5 separate regions of the Homo sapiens genome follow, and regions 2, 3, 4 and 5 are each linked to region 1. The links are contacts of gene promoters, found by promoter capture Hi-C in blood cells and fetal thymus (Javierre and others, 2016). All regions are on one chromosome and are shown on one strand. Each heading gives the region's core, a stretch centred on a gene start or on the middle of the fragment in contact. The rest is flanking DNA. Distances are from core to core; before and after follow the strand shown. Region 1 holds the start of B3GAT2 (beta-1,3-glucuronyltransferase 2). Region 2 overlaps FAM135A (family with sequence similarity 135 member A). Region 3 overlaps FAM135A (family with sequence similarity 135 member A). Region 4 overlaps FAM135A (family with sequence similarity 135 member A). Region 5 holds the start of SMAP1 (small ArfGAP 1).

The links. The method cuts DNA at HindIII sites, captures the fragments that hold promoters and counts their contacts. A CHiCAGO score of 5 or more calls a contact.
Region 2: a fragment that was not itself captured here is called in contact with the fragment with the promoter of B3GAT2 in region 1 in 1 of 17 cell types (naive CD4 T cells); the score reaches 5.0 in naive CD4 T cells.
Region 3: a contact is called between a fragment that was not itself captured here and the fragment with the promoter of B3GAT2 in region 1, in 2 of 17 cell types (fetal thymus and naive CD8 T cells). The highest score is 5.7, in fetal thymus.
Region 4: a contact is called between a fragment that was not itself captured here and the fragment with the promoter of B3GAT2 in region 1, in 3 of 17 cell types (erythroblasts, megakaryocytes and fetal thymus). The highest score is 5.6, in erythroblasts.
Region 5: the fragment with the promoter of SMAP1 here is called in contact with the fragment with the promoter of B3GAT2 in region 1 in 7 of 17 cell types (fetal thymus, activated CD4 T cells, naive CD8 T cells and 4 more); the score reaches 7.9 in fetal thymus.

The regions. Positions count from the first base shown.
Region 1 is chr6:70,955,592-70,958,419 of GRCh38, forward strand. B3GAT2 (beta-1,3-glucuronyltransferase 2) reads right to left here and starts at 1,469. Exons shown (of 4, transcript NM_080742.3): 1 at 248-1,469. The coding sequence starts at 838. It overlaps LOC124901229, which reads left to right and starts at 837. Exons shown (of 2, transcript XM_047419611.1): 1 at 837-937; 2 at 1,041-2,828. The coding sequence starts at 837. The coding sequence ends at 1,767. RefSeq lists silencers at 61-200, 671-800 and an enhancer at 729-1,244. The HindIII fragment of the contact is 6,068 bases long and covers 1-2,828 here.
Region 2 is chr6:70,463,478-70,466,305 of GRCh38, forward strand. All of the region lies in intron 5 of FAM135A (family with sequence similarity 135 member A), which reads left to right. Among named protein-coding and RNA genes, the nearest start is that of FAM135A-AS1, 51 kb to the left of the region's middle. The HindIII fragment of the contact is 3,869 bases long and covers 1-2,828 here.
Region 3 is chr6:70,491,115-70,493,942 of GRCh38, forward strand. The region is part of intron 11 of FAM135A (family with sequence similarity 135 member A); the gene reads left to right. Among named protein-coding and RNA genes, the nearest start is that of SDHAF4, 74 kb to the right of the region's middle. The HindIII fragment of the contact is 1,126 bases long and covers 903-2,028 here.
Region 4 is chr6:70,543,180-70,546,007 of GRCh38, forward strand. All of the region lies in intron 20 of FAM135A (family with sequence similarity 135 member A), which reads left to right. Among named protein-coding and RNA genes, the nearest start is that of SDHAF4, 22 kb to the right of the region's middle. The HindIII fragment of the contact is 4,082 bases long and covers 1-2,828 here.
Region 5 is chr6:70,666,457-70,669,284 of GRCh38, forward strand. SMAP1 (small ArfGAP 1) reads left to right here and starts at 1,427. Exons shown (of 11, transcript NM_001044305.3): 1 at 1,427-1,685. The coding sequence starts at 1,568. RefSeq lists silencers at 1,209-1,608, 1,759-1,988, 2,109-2,168. The HindIII fragment of the contact is 2,958 bases long and covers 1-1,634 here.

The DNA of each region.
Region 1 (2,828 bases), core at 219-2,718:
GCCCCAGGGCAGACTCCCGCCCCTTAAGCCACAGTGATCCTCTCACACACAGCCCCTCCACCCCCACGGCCAGCGGAGGCTGCGGAGTGCCAGCAAGGAGCGGCTCCACTCGGTGCCCCGAATGCGCGCACGGAGAACTGAGAACTCAAAAGTGCACCCGGAGTGCAAGGGGCGTGTGACTGCAGCCCGGCCGGCCCGGAGGCCCACTCCCGCCCTCGCCCACCCAGCGGGGCAGGCTGGCCTTTACCTCCTGGAAGAGCTCCAGACTATAGGTGTTGTCGTCGTCAGCGAAGAAGAGCACGCCGGGCTGCGCGCGCTGGTGCTGGTGCCTCTGGCGCAGCCAGGCGAGGCCCGCGTTGCGCTGCTCAGTGGCGCGCGGCAGCCCGGGCCGCTTGTAGCGCCGCGGCGTGGGCACGTGCAGGTGAGTGCTGGGCAGCCCGGCCCGCGCCAGGAAGCGGCTCACCAGCTCGCTGCGCGCCGCCGCGTCCTCCACCAGGATCCAGTGCAGCTGCGCCACCTGGCGGAACGTGTTGGCCAGGCGGGTCAGCTCCGCTTTCTGCACCGGGCGGCTGTAGGTGGGCGTGATGGCATAGATGGTGGGCAGCTGCGGCTCCGGCTGTGGCTGCGGCCGAGACTGGTTGCGCTTTTGGGTCCCGTGAGCCGGGCCGCCCCTGCGGAGCGGGAGTCGGGCGCCCCCGCGGCCCACCGCGTAGGGAGAGAAGTAGGGGCGCGGGGTGAGCGGGGGCACTGGCCTGCGCGTGTCCACGTCGAGCATGATGATGACAATTAGGATCCAGGGCAGGAGGATAAAGAAGCGGGTGAAAAGCGCGGACTTCATGGTGCACGCTCCCTGGCCTCTCGGACACCCCAGAGAGGGGCGAGCCGAGGGACCCCAGTGCGCAGCTTGGACAGCGGCGGCGCCAGCACTTAGGGAGTGGTGATGGGTGCGCTGTCCATGGGGCCGAGGGCGCTGCAGAGACCTGGAGCCGCGGGGCTCACTACCTGGGCGTGGAGGAGCGGCAGGTTCGCGCAAGCTAGAGCGACAAGGGGTGCAGGCGGGCGGGCAGGGGCTGCCCCCGACTCCAGGTGAGCTGGCGGGAAGCGGGACTCGGTCCAGCCGCGCGCCGCCGGTCCCGGAGTTGTGCCGAGTGCGGGAAAGGCGCTGATCCCCACCGCGCTCTTTCTGAAGAGTGGAAGCCGAGAAGCGGCACCCGGTGCGCCTCGCCGCTCCAGTCCGGCGGTGCTGCGGGCACAAGGGCTCCAGCCGCGGGCCCCCAGGACGCTCTCTGGGACGCCTTCGAGGGCGGGCGGCGGCGCTGGGGGCTTTCCTTCCTCACATTCCCGCCGGGGTGGCGAGGAGCGGGTGGAGACGCTGGGGGTTGTGTCCCGGCTGTGTTCGCGCGCCGCAGCGGAAGCCTGCTCTCAGTCCCTTGCTCTTGTCTTCTCAGAACCTCTCCGGATCCAGCAGCAAGATCCCAAAGCAAGGAAAGAAAGAAAAAGCGAGGGGGCGGGGGCGCTGCAGAATCCAGCGTCCTCCCAAGTCCTCCTGTGGGAAGACAGCAGCGCTGCTACTGGTGGAGAGGGGCTGCGAGAGGGAGGCGCGGAGGGACCCCTTGGCTCTCCGCCGGGTCTGGCGCTAACGGCCCCGCGAGCAAGCTCGGGAGGCGGCCGCTGCACCGCGGGTGGAGGAGCGGGAGGAGCGTCCCCGCGGGGCTGCACGACCTCCTGGAGGGGGTGATGCTCGTTCACCTCTCTTCAGCTTTGTGAAATACCGCAAGGTCTTTGGAGATGAGCCAGGAAAATCCATTCACGTGCGGAAATTTGCCGGGCTACGCGCGTTGCTGCTGATGCCTAGGGTTCGGAGTGAAAGGAGGGGAGAAAGCGAAGGGATTCCTCCTCCTGCTCCCAGCTGCTGCGTTGATGTGCTGGGGTGTATCGAACAGCGGCAACAAAAAGCGCTTTCACTGCAAGGCAGACATCAATAGGAGCCCACGGAGATGGAGGGGTGCTGCACATAGGTGTTTGGCATGTGAGACAGTCCATAAGAAAGAATCAATTCGGAGGGCTGCTGCCTGACTGCAGTTTGATCATGGCGGGTGGGGGCGGGTGGAATTCCTAAAACTCCAGCCGAGCATGTTTAACTTATTTTTCTTCAGTAATTTGGAGTCACGGTCCCTCCCAGTTCTTCGCTGTCACCGGAATTACTCCGTTTGGCTCTCCCAAGGCTCCTGTCAAGAAGGCCTAAGAAGTAGAATGGCCTTCATTTTCAGGATAAGGAAGCTGAGGTTCAGGGTTTAAAATGATTTCTCTGAGGTCAGTGGCAAGTGGCATATGGAAATAGAACGTGGGTCTCCTGCGTGTGTCTATAGCTAGTGGCGTCCTCACTGCATGGCCTGCAGAAATCCCACCCAACACAGCCGGGCCGGTTTGGCCTTCCTACATATAAAGATGGTGCGATTGAAATCAAACAGAGTGTACCATGACGAATAGAACCATGATAGGGTCTGGAAGACCCCAAGTAAACAGTTGGCACTTAGTTTAGACACTTTTTGCTGTCTAGCTGGCCTACTAGCTGAGTGCCTGACCTTCTGTAACTTACCAGGAAGAAGGGCTGTGCTTCCCAGGCAGGTCCCAGGGAAGTGCTTGCAAAGCAGAAGGAAAGCTCCAGACTGTTCTGCCCTAGCCTATGATAAATAATTTCTGAGCCCATCTTGTCTGGGTTGTCTGCCTTTCTCGGGCTTGTTCACAAATAAATCTCTCTCCGACTGTGCGTTCTGGTGCAACTGAGAGCTCTGGGGCGAATGGCTCTCCAGCTTTTCTGACAGCTC
Region 2 (2,828 bases), core at 167-2,666, 490 kb before region 1:
TCAAACTCTTGGCCTCAAGCAGTCTTCTCACCTCTGCCTCCCAAAGCGCTAGGATTACAGGTATGAGCCACCACTCCTGGCCCATAGCATTTTCTATGTACCTCTTTTAGCTTATGTTGTTATAATTTTTTCTCAGAAATGGGATTCTACTAAAACAAACATCAATCACCATTAAAGAACAGTGCTTTAAAAAAAAATGAGGAAAAGTTAAACATATAGCTAGAGACATTTCATATTATGTCACTAATCCTTTACTGTTATCAGTAATTGAATAATCTCAACAGCCATAAATGGAAAACTCACCATAAAGTTAGGTCCTTGAATTAAACTGCATAGATTACAAAATGGAAGTCATTTGGCAAGCCTCCATTTTGCTTTCCTCAGATTCAACAGCTTCTATCATTGCCCTTTAATTGTCTTTTTACCTGGTTTAAGAGATAGTGTTAGATTGCTATTTGCTTTGGCCTGCTGAAATAGGCAGTTAAGAGATTATCACATTGTACTGCAATTATTTATTTGAATGTTTCTATCCAAACTAGACTGGGAGCTCTGAAAGTGGGCAGAGTTCTTACTTATGTTCATGTCTTTTACTTCCCAGTAGTTGAGAGACTTAATAAATTATGGTTGAATGAATAGTCACTTGGTCACAAAGTAAATGAAAGATACCAGTGCTAACTTTTAACCAAAGGAAACGGAAATGCAGATAGTGATAGAAATAAAATATAAATTATCATGATTGAATGTAAGCATTTAGAAGCCTCTAATTATCTCAAGTCTTTAAAACTATAGATCTGAATGTTTGTGTTAGCAGATAACTGATAGGCAAAATAAAAATCAAGTCATTTGAACAAGGAAATAGGATATTAAATTAAGAAGTTAGACGAACATTCATTTATTAAATAAATACTTTATGACTGCCTACTATGTGTGAGACCTAAGTGCTCAGTCCTAAATTAAAGCAGTGAAAAAGATTAATGTGGTTTCTGACTTAATGGAGTTGTTATCATCTAGCAAATATTAGAAAACAAAGTTTCAGATTCAAGACAGTAATCTTAGCATACACGTTTAGGTCTTTTGTTTCCCAGACCCTTCAGTTTGATAATAACATTAAAGTGTAAAAAGGAATAACAGAACAATATTTCAGTTATTTATTTTTTTAAATTTCTTTCTTTCTTTCTTTCTTTTTTTTCTTTTTTTTTTTTTTTTGAGACAGTCTCACTTTGTCACTCAGGCCGAAGTGGTGCAGTGGTGTGATCTCGGCTCACTGCAACCTCCGTCTTCCCAGTTCAAGCGATTCGCCCATCTCAGACTCCCAAGTAGCTGGGATTATAGGCATGCACCACCACGCCTGGCCAATTTTTTTTTTTTTTTTTTTTTTTTTTTTTCAGTAGAGATGGGGTTTCACCATGTTGGCCAGGCTGGTCACAAACTCCTGACCTCAAGTGATCCACCTGCCTTGGCCTCCCAAAGTGCTGGGATTATAGGCATGAGCCACCACACCTGACCTAAAATTTTGTTATCTTGAATAACTGAAATTCTATACCATTGAACAGCAACTCCCCATTTTCCTACCCCCTGTCAACCCACATTCTGCTTTCTGTTTCTATGAGTTTGACTGCTTTATATACCTCATATAAGTGGAGTCATGCAGTATTTGCTTTTCTGTGACTGGCTTATTTCACTTAGCATAATGTCCTTAAGGTTTTTCCATGTTGTAGCTATGACAGGATTTTCTTTTCTAAGGCTGAATAATATTCTTTAATATGTACATACCACACTATCCATTAATTTGTAGATAGACATTTATGTTTTTTCTACCTCTTGACTATTATAAATAATGCTTCAATGAATGTGAGTGTGCAAACATCTCTTTGACCCTCTTTTATCAGTTCTTCTGGATAAATACCTAGAAGTGAGATGCTGGATTATATAGTAGTTCTATTTTTATTATTTTTATTTTTTGAGACAGGGTCTCGTTCTGTCATCCAGGCTGGAGTGCAGGGGTGCAATCAAGGCTCACTGCCCTCGACCTCTTGAGCTTAAGTAGTCCTCCTACCTCAGCCCCATGAGTCACATATGTTTTGTACATATGGAGCCTAACTTTGTTGCCCAGGCTAATCTTGAACTCCTGGACTCAACTGTTCCTCCTGCCTCGGCCTCCTAAAGTGCTAAGATAACAGGCGTGAGCCACACACTGTGTGTGGCCAGTCGTTCTATTTTTAATTTTTTGAGGAACCCCCATAGTATTTTGCACAGCAGCTATACTGTTTCACGTTTTCACCAACAGTACACAAGAGTTTCAGTTTCTCCACATCCATAAGTGCTGATCATGTTCATAATACTAACATGAAGTAAGAAATAAATGAGACAAGGTCCTTGCCTTCGAGAAATCTCCATTTCTTCCTCCTGAAAGGCTCTTCCCTTTTATCTTCATTTGACTAACTCTTTTTCATGGTGTTTCAACTCAAATGCTATGTTGTCAACAAAGCCTCTCCTGGTTTCACAGCCTAAGTTCACCCCCATATTGTAAGATGTCATAGCACTCTGTCTTCTGTACACTTAGTGTAGATGTAATTTACAGAATTAGGTGAGGTCAGGGAAAATGGTTGGTTTTTTTGTTCAGTCCACTTAGCTGAGAAAATCCATGGCACAAAGCAGCTATATAGTGAATGTGTAACTTTGCATTATGAAATATATTGCACATTTTTTGACGATTACATAACACAGTATTTTATTAAATAATAAAATGAACACCCAGGTACCCAACCTTTCATTTAAGAAATAGAACATTACTAGTACTGTAAAATCCTCCTGTATACCCCTCTTGA
Region 3 (2,828 bases), core at 216-2,715, 460 kb before region 1:
GTTATTTGAGTGGTTTCTGTTTCCTATTCTAAATATTTTGTCTATGAAAACTTAAAGTATTTATAGTTCCTAAAATGCAAAGATAAAATGGTTGATCATGGTAGAACCACAACTTAGGTGGTCAAAATTCATTTGGCTTCAGCATGAAGTTAACTTACCTTTTAAAAAGTATATTATTCTTCATATAAATGAAATAGCAAAGATAATTAACTGATCAAACAGTACATTTTCTTCTGTTCACTCACTCAATTTCTGGACACATTTTTAAAACATCACTTAAACTTGTAAAATGATACTGTTTAAAAATGAAAAATTTGTTTTATTTCAGTAGATCAATTTGCTTCTCAGATCATTTTTTCAGTTCACTCTTGCAATTAAATTGAATATATTTGCCTTTCTTTTTCTGAGAAACTAAATGCTTTAACTATTTAAATGTATGTTTCACTATGCATTCACTCTTGGTCAGCTACATTAATGGAAGAAATCAGAGGTGTGAATCAAACAAAAATATGTATTTGGTTTGGATATACTTTTGGATATAAATTTGAATGAAGACTAGACCTGTTCAAAAAGGTATTCTCCTTAGAAAATTATACATACGCAGGATACATCAGTTTTGTATACTGTCCTAGAGGTTTTCTCTGCAGTTCAAGTAAGATATTTTCTTTAAAAAAGTCACTAATGTGCTTATGATAATTGCTCAAAAGAACATTAAACATTTAAAAATAATCTTAAGATGTGTGCAGTTAATATGAAATCATCTGCAGTGTTTCACTGAGCTATTAAAGAAAATTTGAATAAATATACATATGATACTCCTGTAGATAATCACTAAAAGATATCAAATTTTACTCCAGTCAATCATTTTAATGAGTCCAAACCAAAATCCCACTGGAAATTTAAGCTTGTTTTTAAAATCATTTCAAGAAATGTAAAGATGGCTAAGAAAAACTTTTTTTAAAATAATGTAATTTTTAAATAATACAAATGTAGAAAGACTTGCTCGACTGGATACTAAAATATATGTAAAATAATAAAAATGAAAGGAAATAAGGTAGGATTTCTCTAAAAGAATAAAAAGACAAGTCAGAGGAATTAAACAGCCCTAAAATAGTCACTATTATGTTTAATAACTAAGTATATGATAAAATATTAACATCAGGGTCTATAAATATTGTGGTAAAGTTAACGTCATGCCATGCTATAGCAGCAGTTCTAAGTGGACTGAAGACTTAAGTGTCCAAAGAAATTAGGAAGAAAAAAATTACATATATATGTAAATATAAACAATCTGATCTTGGGATATGAAATGACTCCCTCAGACAATTTTTAAAAAGATAAGTTTTTTAAAGACCAATAAAAACCTAAGGGACAAAATAAGACATTGATGATTTGAAATTTCTTTGTAACAAAATATACTATAAATTTGAAAGCAAAGGATAGACTGGAAGAGAATATTTGCAATATTTAAAACAGGCTAATGGTCAGTGCTCACAATATATAACATGCTCTCATGTATCAATTTTAAAACAACACCCTTGTAAAAAAAAAAAAAAAAGGATACAATGAGGCAGTGTACAAATAACAAATTCTTAGCAGAATAATTTAGCTCCTGAAATGATACTCATTCTTACTGGAAACCAGGGGAATGCAGATTCTAATAGGTTATTTTTTTTGCCTATGAAATTTGCAAGAATAAAAGTGACTACTGAGCTTCATTTTTTGTAAGAGTGTAGTGAAACTAGTATCTGCATACCCTGTTGGTGATGGTATAAATTGGCACAGTATTTTTTAACATTAGTGCATTGATGTATTTTTAAAACACTTATATATTGCACAATTATCAAATCTGCACAGCAGTTTTTATTTGATAATCTGTTCTACAAAAATACTCATAAATGTACACAAATATAAGGAATTACATCATTAATTATTATCAATTCCCATGTAGCCATTTAAAAGCATTAGGTGGATCTCTATGAAATTGTCATGAATTATTTAATTCAGAAAATATTTATTAATCCATGAAGCTTGATACTGTTTGCGTGCTGAAAACTCTTCAAGATATATTAATTGAAAAAAATAAAGAAAAATATGAATAATATGATTTCATATAGTATGTTAAAACTAAAAAGCTGTTTGTGTATTTTATTGTGTTTATGTGATTACATATGAAATATTTGAAAGGATATATATATTCCAAGCTTTTAACAGTAATACAGAAAAAAAGTGGCGTGACGAATAAGGTTTGTAAAGGGGAATTTTCTTTACATGCGTCTATATTAAATGTTTAAAAATAACATATGTATCCATGTATTGCTAATAAATTTTTTAGATATACATATTTAAATTTCAGTATGTAAATGGTTGTCATAAACTTTAACATCAACAACCTATAACATATTATAATGCGTCTTGAGACATGGTGAGATACAAATTCTCATACCTTGTATGTCTTTTTCAGGGATTAGTTTGGCAGTACGTATCCACAGCCAGAAAAAATATCTCCTCTTAGTGTATACCAAAAGCTAAACAGAGTTCATGTGAAGATTCATAATATTGTAAAAATGTTTAATAAATGCCCAATGGTAGAATAGTTAAACAAATTATGGGATACTTGTAATCTAAGTTATACAGCCTTAAAAATGATGTTTTTGGCCGGGTGCGGTGGCTCACGCCTGTAATCCCAGCACTTTGGGAAGCCGAAGCGGGCGGATCACCTGAGGTCAGGAGTTGGAGACCAGTCTGGCCAACATGGCGAAACCACATCTCTACTAAAAATACAAAAATTAGCCGGGCATGGTGGCGGGCACCTGCAATCCCAGCTA
Region 4 (2,828 bases), core at 88-2,587, 410 kb before region 1:
TCTAGCCCATATATTCAGCGACTGGTAGTTCCAAGTCTGAAGTTACTTGAATTTGTGAACTTAAGCCCTGGCCATTTAAACCTACATCTGTTCTTATCCTCATTCCTATCACCCATGTCTTCCATTCTACTCTTGAAATATTTGATATTAATAGATTTAGTTATTGAAAATACCACTGCTTTTGAGTCCTGTTTTAGCTTTTTCAGGATTCTGCCTTAAATGTTGTTCTTAATATGAGAAAGAGATTTGGGAATGATTATTACATGTACTGTCTACTATTAGAATCAGTGAAAGGAAAATTCTCTTATAGATTGGGTTTTATGATTTTGTTTGTAATGATACAGAGCATCAATGGTAAGTTTCTTACAGTATACAGAAATATATACTTGATTGATCAAATTACAAAATATTCCTACAAAATGAAACATGGCATATGCTTCTTATGTGAGAAAAACAATATTAGCTAGAACCGTTGTGTGGAGCTATGGAGTTCATACCCTTTGCTGACAGGTTAGGAAATACGTGAAAGGCAAAGCTGAACATAAGTGTTCCTGAGGTCTATGTCTTTATACAGCATTATACAAAGTAACATTTAATTAGCAATAATAATAGCAACATAAGAATATCTAAACTGTAAAGAAAATATAACTGTAAAGATTAGTTCAATTTTTTTCTTTTAAGTTATTAATTTATTATTTGCCTTATAGTGCGTGATCTGGTTGTACTAGTCTAAAACTGTTAAGAACCAAACTCTGACATCACACATAGGTATTAGTTATAGTTCAAACACTGACTAGGCTACCTAATTTAAATAAACTCGTTTCCTTATTGGTCAATGAGAATAGTAGTATCTCATAAGATTATTAAAAGGATTAAATGAGATAATATGTGTAAAGTGATTCTGTAGAGTTCAAAACTTAGTAAATGGTAAAAAAAAAAAAATGAATAAATGACTTAAATAAGCTAGGTGCGGAAATATCATAAGCTAGGTGCGGTAGCTCACACCTGTAATCTCTCCAGTTTGGGAGGCTGAGGCAGGTGAATTGCTTGGGCTTAGGAGTTTAAGGCCAGCCTGGACACTGGGCATGGTGGCTCACGCCTGTAATCCCAGCACTTTGGGAGGCTGAGGCAGGCAGATCACCTAAGGTTGGGAGTTCGAGACCATCCTGACCAACCCCATCTCTACTAAAAATACAAAATTAGCCAGGCATGGTGGTGTATGCCTGTAATCCCAGCTACTCGGGAGGCTGAGGCAGGAGAATCGCTTGAACCTGGGAGGCGGAGGTTGCAGTGAACCGAGATCTCGCCATTGCACTCCAGCCTGGGCAACAAGAGCAAAACTCCATCCCAAAAAAAAGAAGACCAGCCTGGGCAACATGGTGAAACCTCATCTCTACAAAAAAATACAAAAATTAGCTAGGCATGGTCATGTGTACCTGTAATCCCAGCCACTCCAGAGGCTGAGGCACAAGAATTGCTTGAACCAGGGATGTGGAGGCTGCAGTGACCTGAGGTTGTGCCACTACACTCCAGCGGGGGATAGAGCCAGACTTTGTCTCAAAAACTTAAAAAAAAATAAAGCCCACTAGCGCTAGGCACAGTGGCTCACGCCTGTAATCCCCGTACTTTGGGAGGCTGAGGCAGGTGGATCACCTGAGGAAAGGAGTTCGAGACCAGCCTGGCCAACATGGTGAAACCCCATCTCTACTAAAAATATAAAAATTAGCCAGGCGTGGTGGCGGGTGCCTATAATCCTAGCTACTAGGGAGGCTGAGGCAGGAGAATCATTTGAACCCAGGAGGCGTAGGATGCAGTGAGCCAAGATCGCACCATTGCACTCCAGCCTGGGCAACAAGACTGAAACTCTGTCTCAAAAAAAAAACAAACAAAAACAAACAAACAAAAAAAACCACGAGTATTATAGATTACAGAAATTGACTTTTACACAAACAATATATATCTATCTTAGGAAAATTTTTTTAACAGAACTTTTATCTAAATGCTGATATTACTAGCTATAAAAATTATTTGAATGACTTAAAATTGTTTTTATGTTTTAAGATTTCTCTTTGTACTCACGAGTTTATTAGTATATACCTGAATTGAATTAATATCCATTCTGGGAAAAAACACTAAAGAGTACTATTTTCTGGCTGGGCACGGTGGCTCATGCATGTAATCCCAGCACTTTGAGAGGCCAAGGTGAGTGGATCACCTGAGGTCAGGAGCTTGAGACCAGTCTGGCCAACATGGTGAAACCCTGTCTCTACTAAAAATACAAAAAAATTAGTCCAGTGTGGTGGCGCACACCTGTAATCCCAGCTACTCAGAAGGCTGAGGCAGGAGAATTGCTTGAACCCAGGAGTTGGAGGCCTGCAGTGAGCCGGGATCCTGCCACTATACTCCAGCCTGGGCAACAGAGCAAGACTCCATCTCAAAAAGAAAAAGAGTACCATTTTCTAGTAATTGTGACTAATGCATTGGTTAATACTAAAATACTGGAAAAATAATAATAGCTAATACACATGTAACATTTACCACGTTCTAGGTGTGATTTAAACACATACATATTAGCTTATTTAACCCTCTAGGGTAGGAATATTGTCCCCACTTTGCAGATGAGGACACTGAAGCACAGAGAGATTGAATGACTTGCCTGAGGTCACTTAGCTTTATGAAAAGCCAGTAAGCATTCGTGCATGGTTCACACTGCATCATGTTAAGCCAATAATATACATTTTCAGGAACTTAAAAAGCTACTTCTAATAGCACTTTTAAATATCAACAAGTATTTCAATTGATTTTAAAATTACGTTGTAGAGATTGAA
Region 5 (2,828 bases), core at 177-2,676, 290 kb before region 1:
AGGTACTTCAGGTCTTCATGCTTTTGTGCAAGCTGCTCTTTCTTAATATCTCCCTCCCCAGTCCCCATCTAAATCCAGCGTATCTTCAGGACAAGGCTCGTAAGTTCTACCTCCCACATAATGTTTTTTTCTGTTCATTGGAACTCACCAATATCTCCCTAGTAGTTATTTGTCAGAGCTATGTAGTATAAGCTCTAATTTGTTTAATTACTGAGCATCTTCATTGCCATATCCATTCAATTTAATTCCAGAAACATTTTTGAGCCCCTGTGCCAAGAACAGGGCTAGGTAGCAATGAGGGTCACTTTTATGCAGGGACAGGGGCTAGAAATTGGCCTTACTAAGAAGTGTAAGACCGACTCTTGCTCATTGCCTTTCTTAGCATCTGCTTCATCGCAGGCAAGGACTGTGTTTATTTGGCTTGCATAAGCCCCATATTAGAACTTCCTCATAATATACAACATGCCAAATCATCGAAACTGCGTCACCCGGAGTTCAAACTTCATGAGCCTGGATTAGGGTCTGGGTTCCAATGAAAAGTGTTTTCTTTAGTTCTCTTTCTCTTGCATTAAGGATCACTATTTACACAGCTTCTTGTTAAAGTATCACCGCCTAGTACTTGGGTTCCTGGTCACACTTTCCCCCTTATGGAAGGGCTTACTGCCAGGTCTTTCAGACTCTGGAGCCAGACTGCTTTGGATTTAAATCTCAACTCCTCCACTAGTAGTTCTGTAATCTGGTCAGGTTACTTAACTCCTCTATGCCTCACTTTCCTCCCCTGTGTAATGAGGATAACAATATCATAAGGTTGGGGAAAGGGTTAAATGAGCTAACAGTTCGTTTAACAGAGTAATCACTCAATGAAATGTTATCCCCTAATACATGTCACTACTAGATTATTTCTCGCCCTTAAAATGTAAGAGACCGTTTTTCCTCTTTTCTTCCATCCGTGTCTCCAGCTTCTAAACTGCAGGCGAATAAACCTCGAATGAGTAAATGAACCCACCCAGTCGCTAGTTATTTCTGCATTTCCAATGTTGTGCCAGCAAGAGCAAAGGCAAATGGGCAAGTCAAAGTAGGCTTCTTGTAAAAGGTCTTCCATTACTGGGTTTTACTAGAGGCCCTTGCGGACCATCACATCTCAAAAGGGGGGAAAGCTCGTATGAGGCAGTGCCAGCTACCTTTCGGGAATCACCTTGGGCAGAAGGCCTTTTTGCAAAAAGACTCGGCAGCCCGGGCCCCGTAGGTTCGGCGCATGCGCAGCGCGCTCGGCGCCCGGGTTCCTTCCTCCGCGCCACCCGGAAGCCTCGGCGCGACCCAGTCCCCCTCCCCCTCCCCTCGCCGGCTAGGGTGGTGCGTGCCGGCAGGCCGGTCAAGGAGGCGGGACACGTCGGCGCTACCACCGCCACCGCCGCCGCCGCCCCTCCTCCCGTTCCAGCTGCCGCTGCCGCTTCCTGGGCTGAGTCCGCCCGCGGTCCCGGCGGCGCCAGGTGCGTTCACTCTGCCCGGCTCCAGCCAGCGTCCGCCGCCGCCGTAGCTGCCCCAGGCTCCCCGCCCCGCTGCCGAGATGGCGACGCGCTCCTGTCGGGAGAAGGCTCAGAAGCTGAACGAGCAGCACCAGCTCATCCTATCCAAGCTTCTGAGGGAGGAGGACAACAAGTACTGCGCCGACTGCGAGGCCAAAGGTAGCTTGGACGTCGTCGCTGCCCACGGTCGGGGCCTCTTGCGACCGGTGACCTTCCCGCCGCTGCGGCGCTCGGGGCCCGAGCGGACGCCTCGGCTTCGCTGGCCGGCTCCTGCCCTGACTGGAGGGCGGGTGGCTGAGCGGGCGGGCGCGGGGCTCCTGTCGACCCTCAAGTCCGCCAGAGGCGGCGGCGAGGTCAGGCCCGCAGGCCCTGTCAGTGGCCCCAGCCTCCCCTCCTCCCAGACACGGGTTTGAGCAGGTGCCAGGGTAGCGATGCTCGGACCCTCCACAGGGCTGGGGGTAGGAGCGAGGCTGGGAGCGCGGAACCGGGCACGGGTCTGGGCAGAGCTTAGGGTTAGAGAGTTGCCCTCCTAGCTCTGCTCATAGCTATCTCTGTGGGTGGGGCCGCGCTTAGGTCTGGATCCCCTCCTCTACCCTCCGGTGTGACCACGTCCTCCCACTCCGGGCTCGGATTCTTGGTCTCCTAGATGGAGCCCTACCTGCCTGCCCACCTGACAGCTTTTGTACAAGGCTTTTATCTCTGCTTCCTGAAAAAGAGTATGGTGGTCTTTTTCGGTGGGTTTGAGTTTTACGGAATAAATTAATTGGAGAAAGGTCTTTATTAGTAGTAGTATTGTTTTTTAGTCTGGTTATTAGCCAGAATGAAGAGGAATTTCATTACATGAGTCTCTTGGAGGACGGTGGGTTTGTATTTCTGAAGATTTTAGTAATTAGGTTTTCTCTGACCAGCTAGTTTGGGAGAATATGTGGACACTGATTTGTGTACCTCATAAATGCTGAAGGTTCATTTTAAAGATCTAGAGATGGAAAAAACCTAATTTTAGTTTTTTCGGTTGGAGGGCTTCTGCCTCAGCCTTTGAAACAGATATACTATTTTTAGCTGCTATGTTTTGTGTTTGGAGATCTGATTTATGTTTAATGTCTTGTAAGTAATCTCAAGGGAAATATTTCTTTTTTTTTTAAAGAAATGTCTTGTGTAGTTAAGAAAAGATCGTGTATATTTTTAATTGGTTTATTTCGTTATTGGGTGAGAAATAGGGTAGTTCTCTAAAGCAGGAGACAGTCTCTTTGGGGAATGTCCTTTAAGATTTCTGTGTTATTTGACTTAGACTTTTCCTGAAGC